Regions from separate parts of the Homo sapiens genome. Here region 2 is linked to region 1. Evidence: promoter capture Hi-C in 16 types of primary human blood cells and fetal thymus (Javierre and others, 2016). All regions are on one chromosome and are shown on one strand. The core of a region is centred on a gene start or on the middle of the fragment in contact, and the rest is flanking DNA. Distances in the headings are between cores, read along the strand shown. Region 1 holds the start of KYNU (kynureninase). Region 2 has its middle 81 kb from the start of LRP1B.

What was found. The method cuts DNA at HindIII sites, captures the fragments that hold promoters and counts their contacts. A CHiCAGO score of 5 or more calls a contact.
Region 2: a contact is called between a fragment that was not itself captured here and the fragment with the promoter of KYNU in region 1, in 1 of 17 cell types (endothelial precursors). The highest score is 6.1, in endothelial precursors.

What each region holds. Positions count from the first base shown.
Region 1 is chr2:142,874,425-142,879,486 of GRCh38, forward strand. KYNU (kynureninase) reads left to right here and starts at 3,240. Exons shown (of 14, transcript NM_003937.3): 1 at 3,240-3,312. The HindIII fragment of the contact is 4,288 bases long and covers 1-3,315 here.
Region 2 is chr2:142,208,728-142,214,426 of GRCh38, forward strand. No RefSeq gene overlaps it. Among named protein-coding and RNA genes, the nearest start is that of LRP1B, 81 kb to the left of the region's middle. The HindIII fragment of the contact is 1,143 bases long and covers 1,745-2,887 here.

The sequences.
Region 1 (5,062 bases), core at 1,990-4,489:
AGGCCCCAGGGATATGGTGAGGGGAAAGGAGAGGCAGGAGGGCAGAGAGAAGGAAGCTAATCTGCCCCTCCCATCTGGGAACTTCCCAACACCCTGTGTAAAGAAGAAAGGAGAGTTCCAATAATGACTCAGAGTAAATTTTCCTCCTAAGAAGTCACATGTGAGCTCTGCGTTTTTATTTAATTAAGAAAAATAGCGTATTGTGAAATTTTCTGTTTACCCAAGTTTGAGACTGCAGTTTTTTTTATTAGTTCTTTCCTAACTTGTCTCTGTCTTTAATCTCATTACTCATTTCACATACTGAGCACCCAGCATTAGAGTGTTATGATCAGCCTGGTAGTGCAGCCTTGGATTCTTACATAAAGAGTTTGCTGATCTGAATTTAATTTAGTTAATGATCCAGCAAGCACCCATTTTAGTCTACTAAATGCTAGATACTGGCCTAACTATGGCGAAAATGCCCTGAAGAATAAGAATAAAGTTCATGGTTCAAGATTACCTTTTGAGAGGACAAAACTTTCCCATATTTCCAATAATCAATTTTTAGAAAATAAACTAGATCTTAATTAAAAAAAAACAAATTAACCAATTCAGTAGATATTTATTTAGCTCCATACATAGGTAGAGCTCTGAGGAGGATAAAATTAGTCTTTTCCTCTCGGAAACATATCATTTTATAAGCAGGATGCCATACCTGGAAATTAATAGACAACTCGGAATTGTACAACAGCTTATTCTGGCAACACTTTTTTTCTTCCTGTTTCCAAAAGGAAGGAATGGTATCTCACAGTGTTCTCTGTTTAACCTTGACTGCTGGCCCTGTAGCGGGTCTTGCTTTCACCCCTCCCCGCATGACTCGTTCTCTCATAATTCCCTTCTGTATTTAGCGGCCTATGTTATTATACAAGTTTTGCTCCCCATTACATCCCTGGCATTTCACTTTGTGCTTGGTACAGAGAATATGCTTAATACTTTTCTTGAATGAATGAAAGTGTCAACTGAAGAATGACAGGTTCATACATTTGGAAAGGAGAGCTTCATTTCACATAAAGGATTGCAGCCTGCAGGGTGATCATTCTGACCTCTGAAAAGTATAGCCTCTAATCAGAAGCTGGAAACAGACATTTTGAGGGAGGAGCAAAGGAAACAGAAATTTATGTTGAGCAGGGTAGCTGAATATATATATTCAATAAGCTATAGGGGAAGCCATGAATATTTGTGAAAGGAGAAATGTGCACATGCACAATGGAGTTTCATGCTTCTCCATGGGATCCGTGTTCAAAAAATGACAGCATTAATACAATCTGAGGGGGCAGTTTTCAGCCCAATGTGAAGCAGAGGACATGAAAACCTTTACTGCACATTCTCCATAGACTAGCCAGAAACATTCCATGATCAGTATTTTCTTTTTGTTCCAAACCACAAAAGAGAGGGATAACACCAGGTGATGGTTGATGTCATTGGTGTAATCTTTTGAAATGACTGGTTTCTTTTTAGCCATAGGGCAGAAAGCCTAATCATAGTTAGTGATGGAGCGGGTATGTGTTCCACTTCCTATCCTGTCATGGCCAAAAACTTAGTTTTCAAGTTTACTCTGGGATCCCCTTGGCCAAGAGCGTGTCCGTTCAGTTAATCTAGGGGCTTGGGATTTTATTTTTATTCCTCAAATGTAACAAATTTAAAGAAAGAAAGAAATTTATAAAACATAAGAAATAGAAGTATAGCTTAGACCTCCAAGCAAGTTCTTTAAAGGTGACAAGTTAAACAGTAGTTTTTAAGATAATATTTTGATGAAATTTTTAATCATATTATTACAAGATTTTAGAAGAAGCAAGATCTTGTGAAAACAAAACCTTAATGTCCATATCTAGCTCTCTAAATCTATAGTCAGTCTTTAAAAGAGTGACACAAAAATGACACAGATCCGCCCTCTGGTTCGCTCCCCATATATTAGAGCCTGGTAATCTTCCAAAGTTTTTACAGCATGAGGCATACACAGAATAGATGCAAAAAAAGTACACCTTCTGAAATTTCCTGAATGGATTCAAACTTTTACTATTCTAAGTTAATCAATTGGTAGTCTACTTACTTTATAGGATTATTGTAAGGATAGGATCAATGAAGTGAAATATATTTTATTTTCACTGGTCAATTACTCGTATTAAAGCAATTTCATGCACTTTATCTCCCTCTCTTGGAAACTGGAGAGTAGTACTTTTTGTCTGGTTACTTAAGATTAAAAAAAAGACAATATGTCACTTTTGACTTGAGTGTCATGGTATCTATGGCCTTCAACCTGCATGGTTTTATCGTTTCAGTAATCTTGGGAGGAAGGTATTATTAAGTTCATTTGATAAATAGGAGACTGAGCCTCCACAAGGGTTAAGTGAATTGCTCAGGGTTATACAATGAACACTTGATAGAAATGATTAAATGACACTTTACTTGATTTGTTGTGGGTTACTAAATAAAGCATAGGTGTGCATAAGTCATTCAATTATTCAAGCACATTCTTCATCCCTAGTCCTAATATCGAAAGTCTTTGCTCTTAGTTTTTATAACTACAAGGATATTCATCAAAAGACCCAAGCTCAGGAATAAGCCTAAAGAGGTAGTCAGACTAGAACAAAAGACAATTCACAGACTTAAATGAATAATTTGCATTAATGAAGTTTGCCAGGCTAGTTTCCACTTGAATCTTCAGATCTTTCTTCCTTCATTGTCTTGTTAACTGTCCAGATTTATTACCTAGGAGTTTTTGAAAACTCACATATTAGGCAATAGAGTGTATTCTGGAATTGAGAGCCTATTTTAAACTTTTGACTAAAAAGTTTACCCATTAAATGTCATAGATTCAACCATCAGACTGAAAATCCTCAGTGTATTTGAAGGAGGGTATTGTCTCAAAAATCCAGAGCTCAAAGTGAAGAAGAAAGGCAAAATTTGGAATTTAGCTCTAAGACCAACTCATCAGTTCAGGGGTCAGAGATTTATATAGTTAAAGGACAAGTGTGTGTTTACCTGAGTTTAAAGAGCAAAGTTGCCTCTGGAAAGAAGCCCTCACTGGAGGCTCTGGCATTTGAAATGGTGGGCAGGAGCACATGTTGCTTAAATTTCTGACAGTGGCTGGAGATTACCGATTGGTTAGGGGAGAGGAAGTAAAGTAAAATATTTATAAATTCTCCACTGGGTGGAGTCTGAGCAGTTCTTTGAATTTCTCACCCTAAGATCTGGCCTGTACATTTTCAAGGAATTCTTGAGAGGTTCTTGGAGAGATTCTGGGAGCCAAACACTCCATTGGGATCCTAGCTGGTAAGCTTGAGGCGCTGATAAAAACTCTCTACCCTAATGTTTACTCCATGTTTTTTCCAAATGAAACTTCTGTCAGCTAGAATCCTTGTCATAGTGTTTTAGAGGTTTTTTTCTGCTACTCTCTTCTTTTTTTATATATATTCTTTTTGTAAATAAAAATGGTATGACCTTCCTAAAGGCCCCACCTTTAGAAATGGGTTAAATGAAAAGATCTTTACTAATGTAATAGAAAAGAACTGATGAACATAGTGCACTGAATATGGTTACATTTGACAAACCAAAGTTAGTCCTGTTCTTATTTGAGTTTAAGCGGTAAGATTAGGTCAAACTCCAGACGAGGGAAAGATATTCTTAAACAGATTTTAAGTCCTCTGTTTTCTGGTAACTTTAATTGTCTTATGCTGCTAGTAGTCATATTAAATATTTATTTAGAGAAGTGAAAATGCCTACTCTTGAACAGAGTTTCTTCCCCTTTCATTTTATGAAACCTAAGAAAAGAAAGTTGATACACTTTTTAAAAATATACTAGATTTTCTTTTTTCCTTTCTGCTTTTATTTTGAGGCCAGTGGGGTGTTATTTAGTAGTAACACTGAAGCAAATGTATTGATTTTCTTAACGTGTTCAGCAAGTAATTCATATCCTAGATATGAAATATACACTCGTAGCAGAGTAATGTTACCCATTTCTCAATGATATGCTTAAAGAATCTTGCTCAATATGCATATTGTTTTTCCTTTTTTCTTTACTAATGAAAAACTACACGCTTTCTCAACATATTTTTAAGTCAGGTTCTAAACTTTGAACTCCTATGTACAATTTGCTTATTTCAGGCATGAATGTGAAACTGTGTAAAGATTAACTACCAGACACTCAGTCATTTATTTAACTATTTAGCCCTAAATCAGTGGGTGACTAGGAGATTCTGAATTCTGTGATTTCGTTAAAATCAATCAGTTTTTAATTATTATACAAGCTTTTTACTTTAAAGTTGTAGCTGTCTAAATAAAATTGTGAAAGCACAATTTCCAAACCTAAATCGAAGGCACATTGATGCTGTCCATCAGAAGGTATTGATAATTTAAAAAAATATTACAAACTATCTTTTATCTTTTTATAAAGGACCTAATGTCATTTGAGCTTAACCATAATCCTTTGAAGAAAGTAAAATTTAACTTTAAATAACATTGACATACAGAGCAGTTAGGTGATTTGTCTGAGACCATATGGTATGTATGTCCCCCGTCTTGATAAAATTAACACTAAATATGTAACATTTGAAAATTTGTAAAATATGTAAAAGTTGAAGTTTTTAAAAGTTTGGATTTAAGTTCTTCCTTTCAGAATATGAGCATGTCACTTTATTTGCAAACTAAACATGGCATAACATTATGGCTTGTGAACACTAATTGTCTTAGCTGCTGGGGTGAATGCAGAATTAAGCAGCAATTAGTATGAGTGAATAAATTGCATCCTTAGAGTGAGTGCACTATGCTATTCTGGGAACTAAAGACTATATTTGAGACCATGCGAAGTTGTGCAAGTGGTGGAGTAGGGCAGGGTGCAGTCATTTGGAAGACTATGCCCATCAGGTATCTCAAGGTACCCCAGATGTGACAGGCCCAGGAGCGGAACCAGCCACTTTAACTTTTGCCTGGCTGAAACTGGACTGGGAAGGATGGATTAAAAAGGTAAATCAATTCATACGTAGCTTGTGGTCCTTTGCAGCTTAAGTGTAGGACTGAAAAAAGA
Region 2 (5,699 bases), core at 1,066-3,565, 670 kb before region 1:
CAAATACAGTCCATTCTGTAGTACTAGGTGCTAGGGCATCAGCATACAAATTTTGATGAACACAATTCGGCCCATAGCACCACCTATGGTGAAATTAAAAATGATTTAAAAACTGAAGGGAAGAAATCTTAACAGGATATTTAAGACTTTTGTCAGCAGATACCAATACCACAGAAAGGGAATAGGAATGTCTAGACAGGCATGTTGGACAAAGATTCAAAAGAGCATGGTCCAGCAGCACAGACCATGTGCAAGTAACTTCATGCGTGTATAAAGGACAACACTCGGAGTTCTTGAAAACCAAAAATTGGAGCCAGAGACATCTGAATGCAAATAGCCAAAAATCAATTCCATATGGAACAAACAGACAAAAAACATTACAGCAGCAATACAGGTAAATATAGAGCATCCCAGGATTTATTTTCAGGTTTATGAAACAAGGATCACTAACAGCACTGGAGAACAAAATTAGAGTAGGAGAAAGACTGACTTGATTTTGTCACGGAGGATTTAATGTATAGCTGCTTAAGTTTCCAACATTCAGTAATACTGAGTGTATAAAGAGTTTTTGGTGACTATGTGTTTAGGAGGTCATAAGGGAATGTTGTATCAGTTATTCTAAGTAGTTGATGTTCAAAACACTCTGTAATAATATTAAGCTTGCAATGGTGGCTCTCTAAATAGATATAGGTTAGGGGGCAACATATTGAATCTTCTTGAGTTTGCCATACCACCATAATCGTAACTTTTGTTAGAATATTTTTTCTCTCTTGGCTTGTCTCCGATTGATGAATCATATCATTGTTTATCCCAGGAAAACAAATGATCTATGTCTATGGTAAGTTATAATCTATTTCTATAGCAACATTTTCACCTGCATATGTCTTCAAGTCATTAAAATAATACTTAGCCAATGTAGTCTAAACTGTAATCCAATTATTCTACTTTTATAAAGTGAAAAATAACACAGAATACGTACCTTTTCTTGACTATCATTGACAATATTTTACCTCATGTTAGAAAAGAATATATCAAAGGATTATTAAAATGGATTAAAGTACTTAATGGTAGCATGGCATTTATGCCTGCATCACAGTTGACAAGCAAATATAGTGAAAGTTGCCAAAATCGGAGTTTCAATTACTTATGAAGATTTTGGTTGTCTAGCTATGAATAAACCTGTGAAATTGCACAAGGTGCCTTAGGAGACCATGGCCTGGCCTTCCATTAATCAGAAGAATGCCCAAGTCTAAATATTGACTGATGATTGCTTTCCTCTCTGGGAGCATCTCAGGAGACTGGTACTATAAAAAAAGAAAACCAAGTTCACAAAACCCAGGGCTTGAAATAAACATGAAATGAGAATACAATCCTTTCTGAGAATTAAAAATCAATCCTTGCACTAAAAATGAAATATCTGTCTCCTATATAAGTAAAATGTCAAGACATATATTTAGCTTTTTTACATATTTGCCATTAATTACTTTTATGGGATATATATACTTTGAATTCTTAGTTATTAATTCTAATTTGAAAATTAATTTTTATTAATAGTAATTCAATTCTGCTTATAAAATTTCACATATATATTACGTGGGTTTCATAACTTTAAACTATACAAAAAATTTCTATTATGAATTCTCTCATCAAATGATATTCCAATGAATAAATATTTGAAGTGTGTAAGCTTTTTGACCCACATGAAAATACATGTAAATATGCTACAATTATAAATGCTTCCTCAAGCTTATTTTAATTGGGAAGTCATAATGTAATGGGTTAAACGGTAGACTTCAATAACTGAATGTAGCTTTCATTTAACCCTTAATGTGATATTGAAAGTTTTGTTTTTTACTTTTTTATACCTTTTTTTTTTCCTGAAGAAGATTACAGTTTCCCTTCCCTTGCTCATTGAATATTCATGGTATTTGTGGAATAGAAAATATAATTTGCCATGCACTGTCAAAGAAAATCTGCTAGTTATACATTATTGCTTTAAAGCTCCTACTGATATTGAACAAATTAATATATGTTGATAGATATTCTTTTATCAGAAAGTGAATGAAAGCAAGACATTTAAAATGAGACTTTGAATTCAAAATAGCTTTGGGCCCCTGGAAAAGCCTGAGAAAATTCACCTGAAAAGGACTCTTAAACTAGAAGCAAAGACCCTGTAGTTCAAAGGAGAGTGGGGAGCTTCACCCCATTCATTCTCAGATGTAAAACACAATTATAAAATTTGTCTTCTGTGGTCTCTGTGGTATGACTCTTCTTTCATGACAATATGGTGGCATTAAAAAGTAATGATTCTAAAAGTGTAGAGAACAGATAGCTAACTAAAAATCCTGAAGTTTGGACTCTACCCTAAACATATGAAATTGACATGAAGAGTGTGTTGGGAAAGAGTGCGAGAGGCGGCAAATTCAATATATTTAACTAGGTACCTCTGAGACTCACCAACGTTTGAAAACCATTGTTTAGACATACTGGTCTTTACTCTCTCGTTTTCCATAATTTTAGATCCAGATATTACGCTAAAATGTCTCATCACTTACTACCTTCCAGAGTGCTGTTACTTTGCCTCTGTGCAGTTGATGTTTACTGTTTGTACCTCATACACTTAAGCCCAACATTACAGTTTCCTCAAATTAACAATGACCTATCTGCTAAAACGCATAAACTAGAGAACCTTCCCCCAATTCGGGTTCACTTTCTAGTCTCTTAAAATAATATTTTCTGTCCAAGGTATAACCCTAATTGTTATGCCTTTTAAAATGCAGGGGCAATTCTGACCAAGAGGAATGGGAAATAAGTTTATTTTAAAATATCAGACCATAAATTTTAGGTTTCTCAGGACACCATAGTCTATTTTAAGTTCTACTACATAAGCTTAATATTTACTCTGCCAACTATAGCTCCATCTTAATTCATAGGTGACCCTCAATTTCTCTTATGTTTAAAGAACACCTCTCAAAGAAAAATAGAAATTCCCCAGTATAAATTTGTAGAATTTAAGAAGTTTTATAAGACAAAGGGATTGATAAAATAAGGATAATTATATACCCATCTCGTGTTTTAGGGGTTAAAAGAAATTAATATAAACTTAATACCTAGGTAGACATTGTTACATTTTATGTGTCCAACAGGTTATTTTTTACAGAAATTCTCAGAGATTTTAATATGTTAATGTGCATTGTGACTATTCATGTGGAGTGTAGAGTATGCATTATTTTCCAAGTGTACTTGAGTAGATTGAGGAATTTGGACTACTATTCCAGGAAACACAGTCTAGAAAAGACCCTCCAAGATTGTCTGTCCAGCATAGATGTTGGGTACTCCAGAGAGTACAGAAAACACCTTGTGAAACAAAAGCTAAAATAATCAACTTCAGGTAAATGAGAAATGCTGCATGCTTGTCTCTTGTCCTGATTTCATTTATCATCAGTGGACATCCCAAAGCTTAATTGTTATAATGTATGTAGGGTGGTCAAATAGCATGTATACAATAGCAGTTTGGAAAATCCCTTTTCAGTATTTATTGAACTCTGTATTCCAGTGTTAAATTTTCCACAAAACAAAGAGAATTCTGTCAGCCCTATCATTGTCTACTGAAAATTCCTAATGCATATCAGATTGTTTTGTTCTCCACATTTATCAGTAATCTGATGGTTGCCGATTTAATATATCTGAAATGCTATGTGGAAAATATATATTGGTTCAGTTTATCAAATTTCTGATCCTCTTTTTCAGGGCACTTTGTAGCACGTGTTTTCCTTGTGACTTGTCTTGGCAAATGATATGTGAGCAGAAGTTATGTGTCACTTCTGGACAGAGATTTCAAGAAATGGTGCATAGGTTGTTGTGTCCCCTTCCTCGGGTGGTAGACTAACAACTTTCCAGATAGCGTAGGATCTGCAGGTCTGTTTCTCTGTATAAGGATAATAGATATGCCTTTATTGGCTAAGCCACTGAAATTTGGGGCTTGCTTTTTACATCAGCATGACAGAGACATCATCTTGAGTCATACATTTTGATATCAGAAAAGAAAAGAAAGATGTCCTTAGAAGTTGCTAAAAGTTTTGTTTTCCTATCATTGTATCATCTATCCATTAGATGAAGTGACAACATCAACTTTCTTAACTTCCAAGCTAAGAACTTTAATGCTGAAGTTAACTAAAATTCCAGCAAGTAATAGAAACCTAAGCAGTCAAACATCAGGCACTCCTGACATTTAACTAAAACATATTCTTAGGTAATGTATACCATTTTTTGATTACATATAGCCATTTGAAAATTATATATTCATTCAACATATGTTATTTTACATTTTGTACCAGCAATTGTAATGTGCTGAATCACCTAGAAGTTTTCAAGAATTTTGTTCTCGAGACCCATTTACCCTTAAACATTGTTGAGTGCTCCAAAAAAGTTTTATATGTGAGTTATTACCACAAATATATATTCAAAATTAAAACTTGGAATATTTTAAACTAACATTCATTTTGCAAAAATTATAGATTCACATGTTGTTGTAAGAAATAATACAGAAAGATCTGTGTACTCTTTCCCTATTTTTCACCATTGGTAATGACTTATAAAACTATAGTGCAATATCACACTCAGAATATGGACGCTAATACAGTCAAGATACGGAATATTTCCATCAGCACAAAGACACTCATGTGGCTCTTTTATAACCATGCCCAATTCCCACAGTCCCCATCCTTTCCTTCATCTTTGAGAATCATTAATCCACTCTCTATTTCTGTGATTTTGACACATCAAGAGTGTTATATAAATAGAAGTTATACAATATGCAAACCTCTGAGCTTGTTTTTCTTCAGTAAGCATAATATATAAATAGAAGTTATACAACATGCAAACCTTTGAGCTTGTTTTTCTTCAGTAAGCATAATTCTATGAAGATTCATTCAGACTGTGGTATATATCACATTCTATTTGTTATTTATGTTTGTTTGTGTGTTCATTGTTATTGCTAAGCTGTATGTATGTGCCACTGTTTGTTTAACCATTCACGCATTGAAGGGCATCTAATCTCATATTTTTAATTTGCATTTTCCTAACAGCTAAGATGTTTACTATATTTTTGTGTGTTTATTTGCCATCCATATCTTCTCTTTAGTGAAATATATCTTTGTCATTTTTCCATTTTTAAATCGAATTGTTTTTACTACTGATGAGTTTTGAGAGTTGGTTATATATGTTAGATACAATCATCTGTCAGACATGTAGTTTGAAATATTTTCTCTAAGTCTGTAACTTGTCTTTTCTTCCTTTTAATGAAGTATTTTGCGGAACAAAGTTTTACTTTTGATAAGGTTGAATGTTTCATTTTTTTCTGGCTTTTTTTTTTTTTTTTTTTTTTGTCTACTCCTATGTCCCAAGATTTTCTCCTAGGTTTTTTTGTTTTTGTTTTTTGTTTTTTTCTCTAAAGTTTTTATAATTTTATGTTTTACTTTTAAATACATAATCAATATGAGTTATTTTTTGGATAGAGGTGAGATTTATTTTGATATTTACATTCTTAATCTATGGATGTCCAATTGATCCAGTACTATTTGTTAGAAAGGCTATCTTTTTCCATTGAATTGCTTTTGTACCTTTGTCAAAAATCAGTTGGACATTTGTATGGGTCTCTTTCTGGGTTTCCTCCTCTTTTCCACTGGTTTATGTGCCTG